Linked DNA regions of Homo sapiens: regions 2 and 3 are each linked to region 1. Evidence: promoter capture Hi-C in human tissues and cell types (Jung and others, 2019). All regions are on one chromosome and are shown on one strand. The core of a region is centred on a gene start or on the middle of the fragment in contact, and the rest is flanking DNA. Distances in the headings are between cores, read along the strand shown. Region 1 holds the start of KCNJ14 (potassium inwardly rectifying channel subfamily J member 14). Region 2 overlaps CARD8 (caspase recruitment domain family member 8). Region 3 overlaps CARD8 (caspase recruitment domain family member 8).

Evidence for each region. Contacts are between HindIII fragments. The study calls those that stand out against the background at their distance.
Region 2: a contact is called between a fragment that was not itself captured here and the fragment with the promoter of KCNJ14 in region 1, in 1 of the 25 tissues and cell types used here (IMR-90 fibroblasts).
Region 3: a contact is called between a fragment that was not itself captured here and the fragment with the promoter of KCNJ14 in region 1, in 1 of the 25 tissues and cell types used here (lymphoblastoid cells).

What each region holds. Positions count from the first base shown.
Region 1 is chr19:48,452,813-48,457,630 of GRCh38, reverse strand. It overlaps KCNJ14 (potassium inwardly rectifying channel subfamily J member 14), which reads right to left and starts at 2,057. Exons shown (of 3, transcript NM_013348.4): 1 at 1,773-2,057. GRWD1 (glutamate rich WD repeat containing 1) reads right to left here. Exons shown (of 7, transcript NM_031485.4): 7 at 609-4,818. The coding sequence ends at 4,606. The HindIII fragment of the contact is 6,064 bases long and covers 1-2,294 here.
Region 2 is chr19:48,231,911-48,236,728 of GRCh38, reverse strand. It overlaps CARD8 (caspase recruitment domain family member 8), which reads left to right. Exons shown (of 14, transcript NM_001184900.3): 6 at 2,186-2,326; 7 at 4,236-4,276. Among named protein-coding and RNA genes, the nearest start is that of CARD8-AS1, 21 kb to the left of the region's middle. The HindIII fragment of the contact is 6,565 bases long and covers 286-4,818 here.
Region 3 is chr19:48,248,422-48,253,239 of GRCh38, reverse strand. CARD8 (caspase recruitment domain family member 8) reads left to right here. Exons shown (of 14, transcript NM_001184900.3): 2 at 3,393-3,489; 3 at 3,607-3,717. It also overlaps the pseudogene VN1R97P. Among named protein-coding and RNA genes, the nearest start is that of CARD8-AS1, 4.8 kb to the left of the region's middle. The HindIII fragment of the contact is 5,403 bases long and covers 470-4,818 here.

The sequences.
Region 1 (4,818 bases), core at 808-3,307:
CTGTAGTGAGTGTATGATATGATATGTGAATTAGATTTCAATGAAGCTATTGTAAAATAAATGAAATGGGCCTCATGCCCGACCCTCTGATCTTTGGCAACTCTTTCTGAGTCTCGGTTTCCTCCATTGTAAGGTGGGGAAATTGGGACTTCTTAAAAGACCAGGAAGGGCCTTCTTACCATATGGATGAGGGCCCAGTCCTGGCTTAGTTGCTCACCCACCATGTCCCCTGGGATCTCTGGCTTCTTTTTCCAGAGACTCAGTTTGCTCAACCATTTACTAGGTGTGTGATGGATGACAGGTCAAATCCTTTCCTGAGCCTCAGCTCTCATCTGTGAAAGGCAGGAGGCCTGGGGGCTGGGCATGGTGGCTCACACCTGTAATCCCAGCACTCTGGGAGGCCAAGGTGGGAGGACTGTTGGAACCCGGGAGTCTGAAACCAGCTTAGGGAACATGGCGAGACCCTATCTTAAAAACAAAAAGTATCCAGCCATGGTGATGCAGCTACTGTGGAGACTGAGGTGGGGGATCACTTGAGCCCAGAGTTCAAGGCTGCAGTGAGCTATGATGCTCTACCACTGCACTGCAGCCTGGGCAACAGAGCAAGACCCTATCTCTTAAAGAAAAAAAAAAAAAAAAGAGGGCAGGTGCGGTGGCTCACACCTGTAATCCTAGCACTTTGGGAGTCCAACTCAGGAGGAATGCGTGAGGCCAGGGGTTTGAGAACCAGCCTGGGGAAGACAGCAAAACCCTGTCTCTAAAAAATAAATAAATAATTAAAAATAAAAAATAAAGGAAGAAAAGAAATGGAGGGAATCGCAGCAGCCTGTCAGGGTGGACCAAAGGAAAGGGCTGGGCATGGACCCGCACCCCTCATTGCCTTCAGGGTTCACTGCAACGTTACCAAACGCTTGGCCCTGTGGTGGGGAACTTCCCAGGAACTGGCTGGATCAGGACAAACCATTCCAGGGGTTAAATAATTTGTGCTGGAACCTGGGGATCCTCAGGGGCTTCTTGGCAGGGCCTGGCACACTCCATTTGGAAAGAAGACCATGAGACAATGTCAAGTTTGGCACCAACTGGGTCTCCCAAAGCCCTGCACCTGCTTCCCACAACCACGCAGGCAGCCTGGCCATTCGCGAGGGTTCATTAGGCCCACTTGACAGAGGCAAGGCTGAGGTGAGGGGACCAGCCTGGCTGTGTCCAGTGCCCACAGTGTACCCCAACCTTGACTCTATCTCACCCCTGACAACCCTGCATGTTAGAGACTGTTCTCCCAAAAAGGGGAAATAGGCTCGTTGCCCAAGGGGGCGGCCTGGAGGTCAACATCAGGATGCAGCATCTACACCTGCAGCCCTCCCCAGCCTGGGGATCCCCACTCAGCACTGACTCCACCCTCAGGAACCACCCCCGTGGGCTGGGGGGGCAGGTGGGCACTGACACTGACCTGTGCTCCCCAGGCCCCAGCCTGGGCCTCTCACCCCCACTTGCCCATCTCTCACCAAAGCCCTTTGATGAAGGGACCTGGCTTTTCACAGAAAAGCCAACTGGGGCTGAGGTTAGTCCCTTGTCGCAGGTCTCTCAGCCAGTGGGGAGAGGAGTGGCAAAAGCTAGCCTCCCACCCAGGCCTCCTGGGAGCCACGGCCCGAGTGACAAACCACAGTCTTCTCAAGAGCACTCTGGTTTCAAACACACCTGGTATGTACGAGGCCTCGTGATGAGCTCCCGACATGCCCACAGCCCCCACTGGACTCTCAGACCCCACTGCTCACCTTGGCCGCTCAGGATGCCGGGAGGTGAAGATCATCACCCCCTTTCACAGTTGGGGAACAGGCTCAGGGAACGCCATGAGCTGGCCAGGCCCCCGCAGTGCCAGGGGGAATGCTGGTTGGGTCCTAAGCCTTTCTTTCCTTCCCAGAGTTCTGCCCTCGAAATCCTCCAGTCCCACCTCAGCCCCGTGAGGCAGACCCGTTGTCTACTTCCCAAAGCCAACGGGAACCTTCACCAGGGGGCCATCTGCGGCCAACATGGCCCAGCTCCCAGGCTGGCTGCGACTCAGGCTCAGGGCACCCCCCTCCCCTAGCAAAAGCAGGGCGGGAGGGAAAGGGATCCTCCACCTGACCTGCGAGAGCAGCTTAATGTTTCCATATAAAGGAGATACAGGGCTTAAGGTGCTTCAACTTCGTGTCAAAGTCACTGTCTAATCTGAGGCCAAGAAGCCCCGCCCCCAGGCCCCACCCTCACCCTCCCAAATCAACACTCTCACTCTTCCGAAACCAGGGGTGTTCCCCACCACTCCCCACCTACTGGTGGGGGCTGGACAGCAGGTTGGAAAGCAGAGACTACAGAAAGACAAAGAGATGCAGAGATAGGCAGGAGGAGGGGTGTTGAGAGGGTGCCCCAAGAAAAAGTACAGGGACCAAGCAGGACAGGGACCCTGAGAGAGAGGGGGACAGAGACCCAGAGAGGGCAGCAGGAAAGGGACATTGATCCAGAGAGAAAGGGACAGAGACCTTGAGAGAGGACAGAGACCCAGAGAGAGGGGAACAGAGACCTTGAGAGGATAGAGACTCAGAGACAGAGGGGGACAGAGACCCAGAGAGAGGGGGGGACAGAGACCTAGATGGAGGGGGACAGAGAAGATAGAGGCGGACAGGGCAATTGGGAAAACGAAAAGGAGAAAAGAAATGTTTTAAGAAATGGCGACATGGGGAGATGAAATTGTGAAGACAGAGAGAGGCAGAGAGAGATGGGAGAGACAGAGATGGGGGAGAGAGACAGAGACAGAGACAGACAGACTGAGAGGGTTTCTCTGAAAGGATGGAAGCCAGTGAGAAAATGCATAAAATGGGGATGGGGTGAGAGTTGGAGGCACTGAACCTGGGGGTGGATTCTCCTGGCGCTGAGCCTGTCACTGATGGGAAGACAAGGCCTTCTTGAAGGGGACAAGCTGAGGACAGGGATGCTGGGGCAGGGGTGGATGGGGGCGACGCAGCAGAGCAGGAGGGGATGGCTCAGCGGTGCCTTGCATGGAGGCACGTACCTGTTGGGGCGGCCCACCCCCATGCCCTCCGCTGGGGGCTCCTCGGCTAGGGCTGAGGGGAAGCCTCTGTGGGTGCTGAGGGGCTGTAGTCTGTCCTTGGTCCCAGGGGCCGTGTGACGGGCACCCGACCTCGGAGTCCACAGATGGATCAGAGGCTGGATGGAGGGGGGCCGGGGGTGGGGCTAGCTCAGAGCCGCAGAGGGGGAGCCAGGGAGGCCAGCCAGGCAGAGCGGCTGGGCCACAGCCCAGGCAGGCTGGACAGGAGACAGCGGCGGAGGAGCGAGACAGCGACTAGGGGGCAGGGAGACTGGCAGTGGGGGACGGGAGACTCTGAAAGAGGGGGACACAGAGAAGAAAGAAAGAAACGTGATAAAGGGGAGATGGACGGAGGGAGAAATGGGGGGTCCAGAGTTCCCTGAGATGAAGCCTTCATAAGCTGGTGGGGGTCAGGGATGAGGCCCCTTTCACTAAGCCAGAGTGAGTTCCAGATGGAAGGACACTTAGAGAAGGCAGAACGCGGCGGCACCCAGTGGGCGGAAGGTTGGGTTGCACTGGACTCCCAGTGGCCTCCCCCAGCCTAGCGGCCTGGGGGCAGCTGGTGCCAAATTCCTCCCCACCCCCAAACTCCCCCCACACCCCGTTTCCTCATAGGGCTGTGGCCAAAGGACCAGAGTCTCAAATACACCTCAGGCCTCTTCCTGGTCCTTTATTGCTGCTCAGGAGCCCTGACCTTCCTCCCGACACAGCACCAGCCTCTAAAGTCAGGGAGGAGGGGAGAGGGTCGCATGTAGCCCCCACACGGAGAAATCCTGGCCAAACCCAGCTGGCAGGAAGACAACGGGCAGAAGCAAATTGTGTTGGAGGAACCCACACCTCCAATTTGGTGCAGCCACTGTATATCCCCCGAGTCCCCTGCTGGGAACCAGCAGCCAAAACTGGGTCCTGAGCCGGACGCGGTGGCTCACGCCTGTAATCCCAACCCAGCACTCTGGGAGGCCGGGGCGGACAGATCACTTGAGATCAAGAATTTGAGACCAGCCTGGCCAACATGGTGAAACCCCGTCTCTACTAAAAATACAAAAATTAACGGGGTGTGGTGGCACATGCCTGTAATCCCAGCTACCTGGGAGACTGAGCTGAGAGAATCACTTTAACCCAGGAGGCGGAGGTTGCAGTGAGCCAAGATCGTGCTACTGCACTCCAGCCTGGGCGACAGACCAAGACTCCGTCTCAAACAAACAAACAAAAAACTGGGTTCTGGGGACACAGGTCAAATGGGTCACAGCTGACAGGAAGGAATCCGACACACAGGCCACACCAGGCCACACAAGTCTCTGGGTGGGAGTGGTCTTACAGAGCCCTGGTTAAACCGAGTTCTTTGGTGAGAGGGGTCACTGGATCAGAGCCAGGCCTTCTAGAGAACAATACGTCAAACAGAATCCATCACGGCAGCCCACAGGCCGGCCAGTCTCAGTCAACAGACCTGAATGAACCCCTTCCAGGGGAGCCCAATTCGACTTCAGTTTCCAAGCAGGAAGCAAGATCAGAGCCAGTGGGACGCCTCAGACGCTGATGGTGCGGAAGATGGTGAAGCCTGACAGCGCCGTGCTGACCAGGAGCCCTGGGCACTGCGGGTGCCAGTGCAGCTCCTTCAGCTCGGTCTCGCCCTGGTGCACGAACAGCAGCTGCTGCGGGAGGTCGGCCAGTCCGGGGTCGGCCTCCACGTCGCCCGCCTCAGGGTCCCGCTCCACTGCCAGGTCCCACTGTGTGATCTG
Region 2 (4,818 bases), core at 2,319-4,818, 220 kb after region 1:
CTGATGTTGATACAGTACTGTTAACTCAGGTATAGATTTTATTTCAGGGTGATATTTCACAGGCTGAAAAGCACTGCTAATGAGGACAGGAATTCCTCAGTCTTGCTTGGTCCATGCACCCATTTAACATGGGATATTTTAAAAGCAGTGCTGCACGCCGGGGACCATGGATGGTAGAGCTTAAAGAACTACTTTGTTTAATAAAACCTATCCCAGACTGGGTGCGGTGGCTCACAGGTGTAATCCCAGGACTTTGGGAGGCCAGGGCGGGTGGTTCACTTGAGGTCAGGAGTTGGAGACCAGCCTGGCCAACATGATGAAACCCTGTCTCTACCAAAAATATAAAAAATTAACCGGGTGTGCTGGTGCATGCCTGTAATCCCAGCTATTGGGGACGCTGAGGCAGGAGAATAGCTTGAACCCGGGAGGCAGAGGTTGCAGTGAGCCAAGATCATGCCACTGCACTCCAGCCTGGGCAACAGAGCCAGACTCTGTCTCAATTTAAAAAATAAAAATAAAAATAGAAATGAAACCAATGGCAGATAGCCCAAGGCAGGACCCTCTGGTCAACTGGACTACAGCAGAGGTTCTAAAGTCAATGCTGTCCAATAGAGTTCTCACCCAGGATGGAAATGTTCCCTGTCTGTGGTGTCCAGTGTGAAAGCCACTGGCCTCACATGGCTTTTTCTTTTTTTAACATACATACTTTAATCAGAATTGCTGAAAAAATATTCAGGATTTTTGCTCTTGTTGTTGATGTTTTTAACAGGCTTAATTTTCCAGCTGAAACCCGATTTTACATTGCAAACAAATGTTCTTTTTTTTTTTTAGACAAAAGTTGTCTTCAGTAATAATTCCTCAGTTATTTTCTTTCTTTTTTTTTGCTTTCCTTTTTTGTCAATGATTTTTTTCTACAGTTTGGTTTTGAACTTACTTCAAAATCTCTCAACAATTGCTTTCACAGATATTCAGCTGATGGAAGTGTTCACTGTTGTAACCTTTTGTGGAGAGTGATTTGGGAATATCTATCAAACAGTAATGCTCAGGCTGGGTGCGGTGGCTCATGACTGTAATCCCAGTGCTTTGGGATGCCAAGGTGGAAGGATTTCTTGGGGCCGGGAATTCAAGACCAGCCTGAGACCTCATCTCTATTCCCTGGAGTCCTCTTCAAAGCAGATTTTGTTGCCAGACGTCCTATGCCTATGTCCATTACCCAGAAAAATTCTTTTAGTTTCACGTGGCTGGGGAGGCCTCACCATCATGGCAGAAGTCAAAGGAGGAGCAAAGGCATGTCTTACATGGTGGCAGGCAAGAGCCACGTGTGGCTTTTGAGCACTTGAAATATGGCTACTTCAAAGGAGGAACTGATTTTCACATTTAACAATTTAAAACTAAATGTAAATAGGCAGGTGTGGCTAGTGGCTGTCATATTGGCCATTGAATATCTTGGCATAAAGGACACTCCATCACTCCTAACCTCAATCTTGATTCCTGCCAGCCATAGGAGGACAGCACCAAGCCTTCAAAAATGAAGAAGAGAAAAGGATCTAGCATAGGACTCTCATGTTCCATATCTGAATAAGGATCCTTGATGGGAAAAGAAAGTGTGTACAATATCCATAATTTTCTTTTTCTGTGAGCATTTTTGTTGCTTTATGCAACCCCTCTCACCATTTGCAGGCAGAAGGGAGAAGAGGAGATAACTGTTCCATGGGTTCTTATAAAACATGCCCAATCTCACTAATGCCCTGCAATCCCAATCATTTTAGGGTCCTATTCTCTCGGGCACCAATTATGGATGAAGGGAGACTACAAATTAGGAATCTCATCCTTTCCCTAAAATTCTTAGCAAGGTTATATAGGTCAACATACTTGTTGACCTATTATGAAACCAATGTTTGTGGCAAATGCTAGATGTTGAGAACTGACTGACGTCTGCTTCCTAGGATGGAAAGAGCAGCATATAGTGGGAAACAGAGAGCCAGTTAAATTTAACATAATGAGATGTAAGAAAGAGTCATGGGAGTCTGAGAGGTGAGATGGAGTCGTAGGGGCCTGAGGAATGACTTCCCTAAGATAAAATATTGAGTCTATGGCTATTAACATAAAATCTTCCTGCACAGCCTATGCTATCATCAGGCACCTACCTTATATTCATAGTAAAAATTCTGTTGTTGTTTTCCAGGGTATACAGGGAGCTACCCTGTGTTTCTGAGACCCTTTGTGACATCTCACATTTTTTCCAAGAAGATGATGAGACAGAGGCAGAGCCATTATTGTTCCGTGCTGTTCCTGAGTGTCAACTATCTGGGGGGGACATTCCCAGGTAAGAAAAGCTATTCCGTTGGAAAACTATTGGACGCTGTGTCTCAATATCACAGAGGAACATGAGAATTAGAGGAATTTGGGTGTTTTTCATCGAACTCAGGGGAGAATGAATGAGCTTATGCAATACTAGCAATGAATCCAGAAATTTTTGAAACAAACCTTAAGCAATGAGGTTTTCTTCCATGGAGGTGTCTAGAGAACCTATACACAAAAAGGCAATGAGCAATGCAATCGAAGACCAGTGGGTTATTGGTTAAGCTGTTACTCAATACATAAAACCAACCTAATTCTCTAGGAAACTGGCTGATGATGAGGCTGAAGGCCACAGTGGGGTCCTGAGGTTTAACACCGGGGAGGGGAGAATGCGTCTATTTGTAGGGTATGCCAATTTCCAAGGGTTGAATATCCCCATCATGGCAGATTTCAAACTACCAACGTGAAGCCCCTGATGAGGGAGTTGAAAGAACACATGCAGAAGTCTGTCATCCTGCTTTCACCACACAGATACAAGAGACATAAATAACCTCAAGGGCATAGACTGCTGAAAAGTGTAGAAAAATGACTGGAAATTGGTATGTTTTAATATGTATTACTTTTGTTTTTAATATGATTTATTTAAATGTTAGCTTGTATCATTTAATTTAGACTAATGGTTGTGTTGAACAACTTGGTTGCAAAAGCCCTGAAAATGGAACCGTCAGCTCTCATGATCTGGGATGCGCTGTCTGCAGTTCAGCGCTGGGTTCCTCCCACTTTCTAAACCCCTCCTCAGCAGGCAGACTCCAGCATGCACATGCACCAGGAAAGAGAATATAAAATGGCATGTTTACTCTTGCTGCTTTGCCTGTAGCTACCCGAATCCATAGCAAAATGTGTAGCCGCAGACAGCAACCAGTCTTAGGATGTCAGCCCAGGGGTCTCTCCATGCTTGGCTTGCCCACAGAATCCTTCCGAGAAAAGCGCTGTAAAGCCTTTCTCTTCATCCCACTTCTCTAGGTACCTGTTCTTTTTAAACCTAATCCACGTGTCAGTTTCTCTGCTGGTCTCTTTCACGTCGAAATAAACAGATATCTCAAGGAATGGATCAAAGGCAGAGAATTTGATGGAGTTGGTTGCCTTGCTCCAGAAGGTATCACCTGTGTTAGGGCAGGTTTCTCTCCAGAGGCATGACGAACCATTGGCTCACGCTGTATGTCATAGAACCCATATTGGCTAATATTGGAATCACCTGTGAGGCTTTGAAAGCGCCGATGCTTTGGTGCCACCTCCAGACTTCTGATTCAATTGATGTGGGCTGTGACCTGGTATTGGGTGGTTTTTAAAGCTTCCCAGGTGTGGTCAAGTTTGGAATTACCTTGGAATATAAATGCATACATTTTACGCATTGGTGAATTACTGCTTCAGTCTTTGATTCCGACATCGTATGATACCAATCGGAGCAATCAATTTAAGCCAGAGAATCTGGCTGTGTCCACATTGAACGTGGGCATAATACAAAGAGAAGAAGGAGAGATGTCAAGACACATTTGGCTCAAGGGAGTGTGTTATCTCTATTATTTATAAATGTGGATAAAAATATCTTCATTCAAAATGTCTTCTATTTCTTGATAGTCTAGATCCGCCCAGTCTAAGAGAACTTTCTGTGATGACGGGAGTGTTCCATTCTCTGCTACACAGTGTTATAGCCGTGAGTGATATGTAGCTGTTGAGCACTTGAAATATGGATAGTGCAACTGAGAAACTAAAGTTTACCTAAGTTTAATTCATACAAATTTAAATAGCATATCCGGGTAGCGGCTACTCTACGGGACAGTGCAGCTCTAGTTTTCAATAACATCGTCTTCATCTTCATCAACTGATTCTTGATGTTTTTCATCTTTTTGTAACATGGGGATCCCAACCTCCAGTGTATCAGAAGAGCAGGAATCTTCAGAGGGACAAGATTCAGGTAATGGGCTAATAGGGAGAGGAGTGAAGGGCGTGTGGATTGATGGAAATGTTCTGTGATTTTATGTGAAGAAGACAATTTAGAGTCTTTTGTGCAGATCAGGAGTGCTTTCCCTTACCTTTGCCACAGTGCACTGTGCAGTTTAAATGGGGACATGTAAGCCTGTCACTGCTGGGGCATGGAAATGCTCAGGGGAGTCAGTGGGTGGTCCTGGTGGCTGGGGACAGCAGCAGGGCCTAGGAAGGATGCACGCTCTTTCGCCTCTGCATCTTTGGAGTTCGATACTTTTCTGACCTGGACTTTCCTCACCAGCAGAAAGTGTCTTCTGCTATTTCGGACCAGTAGAAATGTAGGTGCATTGGTTCCAGTCCTCAGCAAATGGTGCCTCCCACCAAAGCTGTCCAGCCTGGCTTCCCAGAAAGTCTTATGGAATTTGGTGTATACGTTTAGTCATGACAAGGAACATTCTTGTGCCTTTCTTTGTCTGGATTCAAAGAAGCGAAACTGCATATTCTGGTCACTCTCAGCTCTCATTCGATATC
Region 3 (4,818 bases), core at 1,922-4,421, 210 kb after region 1:
GTGATGCATACCTGTAATCCCAGTCACTGCAGCTCCCTGCACCTGTACTCTCACACACCACATTCTCTTAACCAGTCCTATTCTTTTTAGCTCCTATCATGTGTACATATACGTTTTCCTGTACCACAAACATTCTGTATAATCTCTTGTGCTATTATGTTTTATCTGTTTAGATCATGGATGTATGTCCAACCCATTAAATAGTACCAAGAATAAGGAACATGTGCAAAATGTATTTGTGGAATGAATACAAGAAGTGCCATAGAGCAGTGCAGTTTAACAGAAATATAATCCAAGCCCCAAATGTATATTAAATTTTCTAGCAACTGCATTTAAAAAAGCAAAAACAAGCAGATACAGTTAGTTTAAAAATACCTATGTAGTTGTATATGTATACACATATGTGTGTGTGTGTGTGTGTGTGTGTGTGTATATACTGATAAGGCCAGTGCGGTGGCTCACACCTACAATCCTAGCACTTTTGGAGGCTGACACAGGCGGTTCACTTGAGGTCAGGAGTTCTAGACCAGCCTGGCCAACGTGGGGAAACTCTGTCTCTACTAAAAAATACAAAAAAATTAGCCAGGCATGGTGGTGCACACCTATAATCCTAGCTACTCGGAAGGCTGAAGTGGGAGGATTGCTTGAATCCAGGAGGTGGGGGCCGCAGTGAGCTGAGATCACACCACTGCATACTCCAGCCTGGGTGACAGAGCAAGACTCTGTCTCAAAAAAAAAAAATTATATATATTATATATATTCTTACATATGTTTTACTTACATATTTGTGTATATGTATTTTATTTAAATATGCATATATATGTAAACATAACAAAACATATACATACGTTTTACCCAAAATGTCATAATTTAAACTTGTCAGCAATGTGAAAGTTATTAAGATAATATTTATATACTGTTATTTATATTGACTTCAAAACCTGAATGCTTTTTAAATTTATGATACACCTCAATTCAAACTAGCCCTAATTCAATTGCTCAATAACTGCATGACTTTTTCTCCACAAAAGTCATCATGGAGACTTCCCAGCTGCAGAAGAAAGTATGGGGTTTGAGATCAGCCATTGAATGCTCCCTGAGAGCTGATCATTCTTGTCTTAGAGAGGAAGAGGTAAATTAGGAAATAATTTTATTATTTTTTATTAGCACAAAAGGGCAGATGGTTGGGTAGCATGATGAAATAATTCCAGTGATCATCTCTAGTCTTGATTTTTTCTCAGATTTATAAAAGAAATAAAGAGTGATGAAGTTGTTTGAGCAATAAAAGCACACAAAGCAACCAAGCAGCAGGAGGATGGTATGGGTGGCTCTGTGTTCAGGAGATGGCTGGGAAGAGAGGCTAGGGCTGTGCAGACGCTGGGCTCTCCGCCGGTGTCTGCAGAGGAGACTGGCCATGTTGATGCTGGTCCAGACCATGAGGAACACAAACAGGACATGGCGAATCACCATGACATTTATAAATGATCCTTGGGGGAGTTTTATCTGTTTAGATCACGGATGTATGCCAAATCCATTAAATAGTACCAAGAATAAGGAACATGTGCAAAATATATTTGTGGAATGAATAAAATAAGTCCCATAGAGCAGTGCAATTTAACAGAAATATAATCCAAGCCCCAAATGTATATTAAATTATTGTATGTATGGCCTAGTTTGACAACAGTCTTGCAAATATCCAGGACCAGAAATGGTGAAATTGGTATTGGCCTCTACGGTTTCAGTGATGTGAACGTAGATTAGCATGTTGGTGATCCAGAGGAAAATGAAAGAGGGAACAAACCTCAAGGCTGATATGCGGATCACACAATAGTTTACCAAACTGCCCAATATCATAACCAGAGACGTTCACACTACAAACCAGGAGAAAAAGTTGGTGTTTTCACACTGTATAACTTTCTGCAAGATGCTGAAACAAGACTCTATATCATAATGAGACTTTCATCTCACTTAATTCGACCTTTTCTACTTAGCAGAATAATGGTGTAACTTAAATTTTATGATCAATTCCTTCTGCTTATAACTTAACAGAACCCAACCTACAAAATTCTTTAGTATCCATTGGTTAAGCAAGAAATTGTCTGTGATGTTGCTAATACGACATGCTATACCTGAATAAATTCCTCTGAGAAAAGTTGAGGCTCCTATACACAAAATAAGAAAGCAGGCCATGTGGTTACCCCAGGTCTCACCTAACTCCCTGCTGTCTCGAATAACTGTTTGAGTTCTTCAATTAGTTGTCTTTAAACCTAGGTTTATGGCTCAAAACCATATGCAAACTGAAAATCTCATATTGCTCTTAATTTGTATTTCCCCTTACTTTGTATTTCTCCTTTTTAAACTTTGTATGTGTTACTTGTTAAATTTTTTCAGAGGTGCAGCTCCTAACAAAATAATACTGAATCAGCACTTTAAAGGGATAGCAAAAGACTGTAGAACAGACAAAATTGAACTTACTAATGGACTCCAGGGAGACTTAGCCTGAGAGCCACATCCTTCAAATCTCTTTTGTTGCTCAAATGTGCTTTTGACATCGATTCCTAGTCACCAGTCACTCCCCACAACATGGGATGAGACCAGCAAACTGGGAGAGGTCCATGCTGGCATCAGGGGACATCAAATCTTAATTACAGAATGATTGATCAATAATGCTTTTAGAGAAAGTTCTTGATCACAAGGAGAAATCTGAAAGTTGTCAGAACAAAATGGAGCCACTAATGTTAAGATGACCCTGACAAATAAAGCCAGGAAAGCCATGAAGAGGGGGGGTCTTATCCTTGTATGCTTGAAAATGAAAAAGACTCTACAAAACCCACAACCTTGCATAAAGGTCATTGCAACCTTAAACAAAAAATATTTCTGCAAGGAATGCTGCCCAGCAACTGCCTGTCCAACCTCAGACTAATGTCACCTTTGTGCCTGATCCTGTGGCCAAGGAAAATCCTGTCAAAACAATATGCAATCCTCCCCATTTCTGTCTTCCTTTATCTTCCTGAATATATACATAGTTTAATATGGCATATCTATTCCCAATTGCAATGCTCTATTCCCAAATAAACACTGTTTCCTTTAGGAAGCTTTCATATGTTTGTTATTTAGGTTAACACTTGTAATAATTAAAGGATTACAGTTACAATGTAAAATTATTAGTATTAACAACACAAACATTGGTATAAAAATTATTATTACAGAAATTAAAACAACTTGAGTATGGAGAGATTAAGACTGTCCCAGCCAAGTCATTGAAGTCATAAATTTAAGCTATGACTAACAGGATGCAAAGCTTCCTGAGGGTTTTGTTTTGTTTTCAACAAGCGGAGGGCCCCATTTCCCTTTCCGACAGCCTCATAGGAACTTCTCCCTTTCTTCTCAAGTGACCAAGAGGAACAGAACACAGAGCAGCCTGGCAGTGTCCAAGCAACAAGCCTCCGCTCCTCCTTCCTGCACCCTGGGGCTCCTGAAACTCACATGGTAAGCGCTGCAGAAACGCAGCAGGTGGTGACTTTAGGGGAGGACAGGCCAAATGGGAGAATCCCCTTAAGCTTCGGTTTCTCTAGTTCTCAACTTCTTTTGAAATAATGTTCATAGAGAAGGAGGGCTGTCTGAGATTCGAGGGAAACAAGCTCTCAGGACTTCCGGTCGCCATGATGGCTGTGGGCGGTAAACGCGGTTAGTGCAAGCATCTGGGCCATCTTCAATGTGAGTAGGAAAAAACACGACTACACTTACTTCTGCAGAGTTTATAATATCCTTGCCCATTATTTACAATAAAATATCTAAAACATAGGTAATAATATATTTTAAATAAAATTGAAGCAATATATGAAATTTCTCTGAAATTCATCCAGCCACTCTCGGCTGTTGCCACTATCCAGAAACGTCTTAATCCCCCTGCATGATTTATGTATTTGGTTTGTATTTTAAATATTATTTTCTGTAATATTTAAAACTTGTATTTGCTTGGTATCGTGCTGTGCAGTCTCATGCAATTTGATTTTTAATCAATATTACTTTTTTTTTTTTTTGAGACGGAGTCTCGTTCTGTCATCCAGGCTGGAGTCCAGTGGTGTGATCTCGGCTCACTGCAACCTCCACCTCTCGGGTTCAAGCGATTCTTCTGCCTCAGCCTCCCGAGTAGCTGGGGTGACAGGCGCCCGCCACCACGCACGACTAATTTTTGTATTTTTAGTAGAGACGGAGTTTCACTATGTTGCCAGTCTGGCTTCGAACTCCTGATCTCAGGTGATCCGCCCGCCTCGGCCTCCCAAAGTGTTGGGATTACAGGCGTGAGCCACCGTGCCCGGCCCAATAGTACATTTTAAATATTTATCCATGTTTACATGTGGTTTTAATAATTTATGTTAACTGCGCTACAGTATTAATGCAATGATGATATTATAATCAATGTATCCATTCTTTGATGATGGACATTCAGTTTGTTACCCTGTTTTCTGATAGCAAACCATAATACAATGGACTTTTTATATGCATTTTCTTGTCCACACATAATTTCAAGGGTAGGTGTGTCTTGAAGTCTAGATACAGCCAGTTTATTCTCCAAAGCGGCTGTGTTTTCAGTCATCTCCACTACTGGTTTACGAGTTTCCATTGCTACACATTCATATTCACACTTGATTTTGTCAGCTTTTCTTATTTCCATCAGTATTGTGGGTGAGAATGATAACTGATAGTGGTTGTCATGCACATTCCCCTGATTACTAGTGAATTTTAACATCTTTTCAGGACATTTGTGTTTTATCCTTTTGATTCCTTATTTATATCATTAATTCATTTCTCTGT